Regions from separate parts of the Homo sapiens genome. Here region 1 is linked to region 2. Evidence: promoter capture Hi-C in 16 types of primary human blood cells and fetal thymus (Javierre and others, 2016). All regions are on one chromosome and are shown on one strand. Each heading gives the region's core, a stretch centred on a gene start or on the middle of the fragment in contact. The rest is flanking DNA. Distances are from core to core; before and after follow the strand shown. Region 1 holds the start of LOC107984821 (a long non-coding RNA gene). Region 2 holds the start of TRADD (TNFRSF1A associated via death domain).

Region 1 (3,166 bases), core at 392-2,891, 260 kb before region 2:
GTATGGAGTGGAGCACAGAGACATAGAGGGCACCCCAGCAGACTGAGAGGGGCTGCTTTCTGCTGAAACTAGGCGTGTACACATGTATGGGGATGGGGTGGGAAGGGTCATGTCCCGAACCCAGTAACATAAAATAAATGCATAGAAAAAAGACTGGAAAGAAATCTGGTAAAAACATAACTATAACAACAAAACCAAGAATGACTGCAGCTGTAATGACAATAATAACAGAAGCTGTTCCATTTTTTGAGAGCCAATTATGTGCCAGCCTCTGTGCTAAGTAAGGGCTTTGCTTGTATTATCTCAGTTAATCCCCACAGCATGCTCTTCTCTGGGTGGGGGTGGGTGGGCAGTGGCCTGTGGGGTGTGCTCTGTAAATGTGGTTGTTTTCTGCCAGGTCTGCAGCTTCCGCAGAGGTAGACAGAGGAGCCCTTAGGCCCCATCTATAGGAGATGTCGTGCTCTCCTTGCCAGCAATGCAGGGTGTGAGATGGGATGGCCAGCCCCCTTGGGGATGCCTTCGGGGAGCCAGCCAGGCCCACTGAGCTAACCTCAGCCCCCACTTGGCCCTACTCCTCTAGGCGTTGGGGCTCAAAATAGCAGCTGCTCGAGAGCTGACAATCAAAGGCCAGCTAAAAAAAGGCCCCTCAGTCTGGGCTCTGTCGCACACGGCTCGTAGAGCCTATTTTAGGGGAGAGGGTGCCGACATGCCAGTGGAAAATCCATAGGGCGGGAGTCTCCCAAAGTGGGAGACCCATATGCCTCCCTCTCCCCACTCTGGCCCCCCCACCCAAGTGCTCACGTGCACACACACTCACATTTTGCAGCCGTCAGCCTGCTTCCTGACCACTGGACCCTGTCATCTCCACCACAGCCCAGGAGAGGGATGAGGAAATTGAGGCTCAGAGATGGGAATTGACTTGCCCAAGATCACGAGGCTGGGAAGTAGGCAGGACAGCCACCAGATGGGGCCACTGTGGCTCACAGTTCAGTGCTCTCCCGTGGAAGAAGCCACATCACTGAGGAAGCCAATACATTGTTCTCTGGAGTGCCCAAAGCTCAGAGATGGGGCCAACGGTGGGGTGTTCTGGGTTGGACTGAGGGTGAGTAGGAGCTGAGGGTGACCTGTGGTCTTAGTCTCCGCATGGGAAGAAATCTCACTAGAACCCCCCAGGCCAATTCTGAGGGGACCTTGCCTGGCTGTGGGAGAGGCAGCTGGAGCGGGTCCTCATCGGCACTGAGCCCAGCCCAGCCCCCTCATCCTATCCCTGTGACCACCTCACGCCCTGCCCCGCCCAGGCCCCCAGAGGCTGGCAGGCCCTGCCAAGTTTCCAGGGAATGTGTCAGATAAAGGGCTGGTGCTCATGACTCTCTCCCACGTAGCAGCTATCTCTGACCCTACTGCCACTACCACTGCCACCGCCACTGGGAGGTGGATAAGAATAGCAACAGCCCCAGTGAGTGGGCACCCACAGGGACACAAACCATGTCTTTAGGTGTCCAGCCTCAGCCTCAGACTGAGGATGAGTCTCCAGGTTCCCCTTTCCATCAGTTCCAGCCCCACCTAGCTCCCCCATCATCCTGGGCCCAAAATCCTACCACATCTTAGGGTAAAACTCCAAGCCTCATCCCTTGTGGCTGCTGCCTCAGCAGGGGGAATCTGGAGGGGATGCCATCGCCACATTGATCCTGAGCTGGGGCCTGAGCCCTGCCCTTCACTGGGGAGCTGTATGACATGGAGCTGGACATTGTCCCTCTCAGGGCCCACAAGCAGGGCAAGGTGGCACAGCAGCCCCTGGAGAATGAGATAGCCAGCCGAGGCCTCTCCAGGGGCTGGGTACCCCGTTGTCCTGGTGACCACAGTCTAGTCTGGCTTCTGAGTGCCCCTGTGAATTCTGGCTTTCTGGTCAGTGGGGATGTGAAGACAGTGAGGGTCCTCATGTCTCACAGATAGGGGTCACTGGGATACGACCACTGGGTGGTGTTGGGGGGGCCCTGCATGAGTCCTGTGACACTCCTGTGAGGGTGTGAGGGTAGCTGCGTGACTACAAGGTAAGAGGCTGTTGTCATGGAACCCATGGTGAGCGTAGTTGTGACACCGGAATCGGGAGATCCAGGGAGCCTCATCTCCAACTGTGACACATGGGGGTGATGGAGGGAGCCGAGTCCCAGTCCCCACATCAGTGACTCCTGCAGCTCTCACAGCCTGACTCATTGCATGGCCCCGGACCTGGTACCCCCAGCCTCCTCGCCCCCGGCTCTGGCGCCTTTCTCTCCTCGCGTCCTCCCTGTTCTCAGGCGACTCTTCCTCTTTTGTACCCCCCCCATGTCACCCACCTACCAAAGGGGTCCCAGGGAGGAGGTCAGGGATGCTAGGGAAGAACGAGGAAGGGTGGGCCGAGGCAAGCTCCTCGCACACTCACACATTCCGATGCGTGCATCACACAGACCAGACTGCAGCATATACTTATACACCCACAGACACACGTGTGCACACACGCCTGGTAGAGTGACTGGGCCACTAAGAAGCCTCCCAAGCTCAGTCTTCCAACATCAGCCCTGTCTGGTAGGCCCCCACCACCCCTTAAGTCAGGGTCCCATGCCGCTGAGGCCCTCACATTAGAAACGCATCCTCCCGCCGCAGCAGTGTGTCTGGAGGTGACACCCTAGGAAGAACTTCTGCCCCGAGGCCCCAGCTAGAGTCCTGGGTGGGTGTAGGTAGATGTGGGTGGGGTGGGGTCTCTGAGGGCCCGAGACTGTTGCTTTCTTTGTGGGTGAGGGCCAGACTGACCTCTGGGCCTCCGGCTTCAAGAGCCCTAATCGCTGGGGCTGGAAAAAGTTTAAAAATATCCTCATGTTTACATTCTTTCCAAGCTGCCTCCTGATCCTCCGTGCTGGGTCCCTTTGATCTGGCCCAGTGCCTCTGGAAGGGGCCTGGGAGAAGGGGAGCATGAGGCCTCTGCTGGGGCCCACCCCTCAACCCCCTCCAGCTCCAGCCCAGAACCCTGTGAGACCCTGGACATCACAGACCCTAAGAGCACCTGGGCACTGGAAGGGAGCTGGGGCTGGAAGGGGTGTCTTGCACTCTTGCTTTGGGGCTGGAGCTGGGGCCCCTCTCCAAACTCCCTCCCAAAAGCCTGGGCCTCTTGGGACCTCTAGGGAGTGTG
Region 2 (3,141 bases), core at 555-3,054:
GCCCTGGCCTCCCAAAGTGCTGCGATTACAGGAGTAAGGCACTACTCTCGACCTTTGTTTTTTCAATTGTCTTGTTTTTGAGACAGGGTCTTGCTCTGTCACCCAGGCTGGAGTGCAGTGGCACTATCGCAGCTCACTGCAGCCTTGACCTTCCCAGCTCAAGCAACCCTCTCACCTCAACCTTTCAAGTAGCTGGGACTTTAGGCACACGCCGCCATGCCTGGCTAGTTTTTGTATTTTTAGTAGAGATGGAGTTTCACCATGTTGCCCAGGCTGGTCTCAAACTCCTGGGCTCAAGCGATCTGCCCACCTCAGCTTCCCAAAGTGCTGGGTTACAGGTGTGAGGCACCACACCCAGCCTTCTAATCTTTTCATAGAAAACATTAATACTTGTGTACTTACGCCAAACCACAGTCTGGATAGTAACAGGAAGTTTGCATTTTGTTTATCTCTGGGCAGGATGAAGGAAGGTAGGTGGGGGTGGGGAAGGATTGTGGGTGATTTTTATTTTCTTTGTATTTAGCAATATTTTCTGCTTTATGTGAAGTAGACATATTTTCTTTGTATTAAAAGAGCAAAATAAATTTGTTTTCTTTAAAAGCAAAACAAGAAAAAACAGGAAACTCTGCAGGTGACAAGTGGGTCCATAATAGGGAGCCAGCCACGGAGGTGAGATAAGGGGGGAGTCCTTCGAAAGTGGCCTGGGGAGTAGGAGAGAGTGGGAACTTCCCCTGGAAACATTCCCTCTTTCATGTCTTTCTGGCCCCTTGACTTGAGAGTGCTTGACTTGGTTATGGTCCCACCCCAAGGGGTGGAAGTGGGGACCGAACAGGACCATTGTCTGCCCATCAGGTCTGTGGGGGTCGAGGGGGAGGTGGGGAGTACTGGGAACCTGGAGACTGGGGATGCTTTCTCACACTCACTAGTACTAGAAGATGGGGAAGGTGAACCAGGCTGGAGGTCGAGTTAACAGGGTAAAGAGGCCAGGGCCCTAGTTTCGCATCCGCCGACTGGCAGCTCTTCTTACGTGTTCTTTCACGGAAGCCCCTCCTTGGGAAGCCCCGCGCCCCACCCACCAGGAGTCGTCCCTTTTTGGGCGGGGCTGAGGCTTCCAGGCTGGGTCCTGAGAAAGTTTGGTGGCCGGAGACTGTGGGGCGCTTAGGTACCGACCTAACAACTTCTGCGCCTGTTTCCAGGGACGAGCCACGCACGGTGCCCCCTGAACACCTAACAGTCCCGGGGGCAGCCCCACCTCTGGCTGGGTGGACAGAGACAGCCTGTGGGCGTGGCCCAGAACTGAAAGCCTGTGACTCCTTGCGACCCGCCGGGCACACCCCCTACTCAGCTACGCAGCTCCCGAGCGCTTGAGGGGAGCTTCCCAGGCTCCCACTAGCCCACCCTCAAGCTGGGGTTTCGCACGTGCGATCGGCTGGGGTGGGCAAGGGGGTCTCCGCTCAAGGAAAGTATTCAGAACCAGCCCCTTCTCCCCCACCCTCTCTCCTGCAGGGCCCTACTGCACCTCGAAAGTGCTGGCAGGGACGAGGAGCCTGCGGGGGCCAAATTCCGTACCGTCCCCCGCCTCCCACGGTGTTCGAACAGCTCAGTAGACCGCCGCCACCAGCTGGCTGGAGCAGCCGCCGGTGACATCTGCGCCGCGCCCACGCTTCGGAGCCAAGATCCACCTCCTCTCCCGCCCGCACCGGGGAGCCCACCCACCCACCTGCTGCACTAACCTGGCCGCCTCGGCGGGGCCTGGGTTCCCACGCCCGCCAGGCTCCGCTCTACTCCGCCGCTTCCGGGTGTGCGCGGAGGCGCTGGGGCGGTGCCCTAGCCCGAGCCGCCCCGTCCGCCCGCGCGTCCCGCCCCGCGGGCTCCCGGTGGCTGCTTCCCGTCCGCTGTCCTCTGCTGCCAGTCCCCTGCCCCGGGCAAAGCCCATCTGGTCCGCCGAGCAGGTAAGACACCAGCGCCCAAGGTTAGACGGCAGGAAGACCCGACTTTGGGGGTTTGCGATTCTTACGAGGCGGGGGGCTCGTAAGAGCTACAGCTGCCAGACTTCGGTAAATCAAGGGGGCGCCCCCTGGAGACCAGAATTTTCTGGTACCCCTGGGGATCCGGCTTCAAGATCGCTGCTACCAGTGGGCACTCAAAACGGGGTGCCCATGGGTCCCAGGTACAAGCCCGGCCGAACGTATCTGAAGCCCCAGGAAACACGTGGCACAAATTCCGGGAGAAACTGTTAGCCCGGAAGATATGGGAACATTAACTGGCGAGTAGTGTGAAGCCTTGTGTACACAAACCTTTAAGAACCTTAAAACAAGATTGGCGGCCGGGCGCGGTGGCTCACGCCTGTAATCCCAGCACTTTGGAAGGCCGAGGCAGGTGGATCACCTGAGGTCAGGAGTTTGAGACCAGCCTGGCCAATATGGTGAAACCCCGTCTCTACTAAAAATACAAAAATTAGCCCGGCGAGGTGGCGCGCGCCTGGAGTCCCAGCTACTCGGGAGGCTGAGGCAGAAGAATCGCTTGAACCCGCGAGGCGGAGTTTGCAGTGAGCCGAGATCTCGCCACTGCACTCCAGCCTGGGCGACACAGCTAGATTCCGTCTCAAAACAAAACAAAACAAAAACAAACAGGATTGGCAACTTCAAAGAGGACGCACACTTTCCAGTAACCCATCCCCCTCTAAAGGCTGCGCTCCAGGGTGGGTCTGCGGAGTTCCAGCCGAACCCAAATTGCTCAGCGGGAGCCAGGGCTGCTCAGGGGTCGGAACTTAAATCTTGAGCCCCTCAGGCCCCAGAACCGTCAGGTCCCAGAGACCCAAGTTTTTTTTCATCCAGTGGGGCTGTCTTAGGAAGCACCCGGGACATCTCCCCGGCGAGGCGGAGGCGGGGAAGGAGCCTCCCCTCCAGGGGTGGATCCAGCTTTGCCCCGCCCACGCCTCGCTTCCTGATTGGCTCATGGTCCCTGACAAAGAAAAGCCTACATTAACGCTCCCGCCTTATTAACCCTGTAGTCACTTTCTACTAACCGGCGGGGTTAAGATGGGGTTTCTCAGGCCGGGCGCGGTGGCTCATGCCCGTAATCCCAGCACTTTGGGAGGCCCAGGCGGGCCGATCGCTTGAGCCTAGGAGTTCGAGGTCA

Evidence for each region. Contacts are between HindIII fragments. The CHiCAGO score rates a contact against its expected background, and 5 or more counts as called.
Region 1: a fragment that was not itself captured here is called in contact with the fragment with the promoter of TRADD in region 2 in 3 of 17 cell types (M1 macrophages, erythroblasts and M0 macrophages); the score reaches 5.8 in M1 macrophages.

The regions. Positions count from the first base shown.
Region 1 is chr16:66,902,474-66,905,639 of GRCh38, forward strand. LOC107984821 (a long non-coding RNA gene) reads right to left here and starts at 2,787. Exons shown (of 3, transcript XR_001752244.2): 1 at 2,618-2,787. RefSeq lists an enhancer at 700-3,166. The HindIII fragment of the contact is 9,071 bases long and covers 1-3,166 here.
Region 2 is chr16:67,158,105-67,161,245 of GRCh38, forward strand. It overlaps TRADD (TNFRSF1A associated via death domain), which reads right to left and starts at 1,805. Exons shown (of 5, transcript NM_003789.4): 1 at 1,734-1,805. FBXL8 (F-box and leucine rich repeat protein 8) reads left to right here and starts at 1,853. Exons shown (of 3, transcript NM_018378.3): 1 at 1,853-1,952. RefSeq lists an enhancer at 974-1,233 and silencers at 1,834-1,973, 2,994-3,083. The HindIII fragment of the contact is 14,896 bases long and covers 1-3,141 here.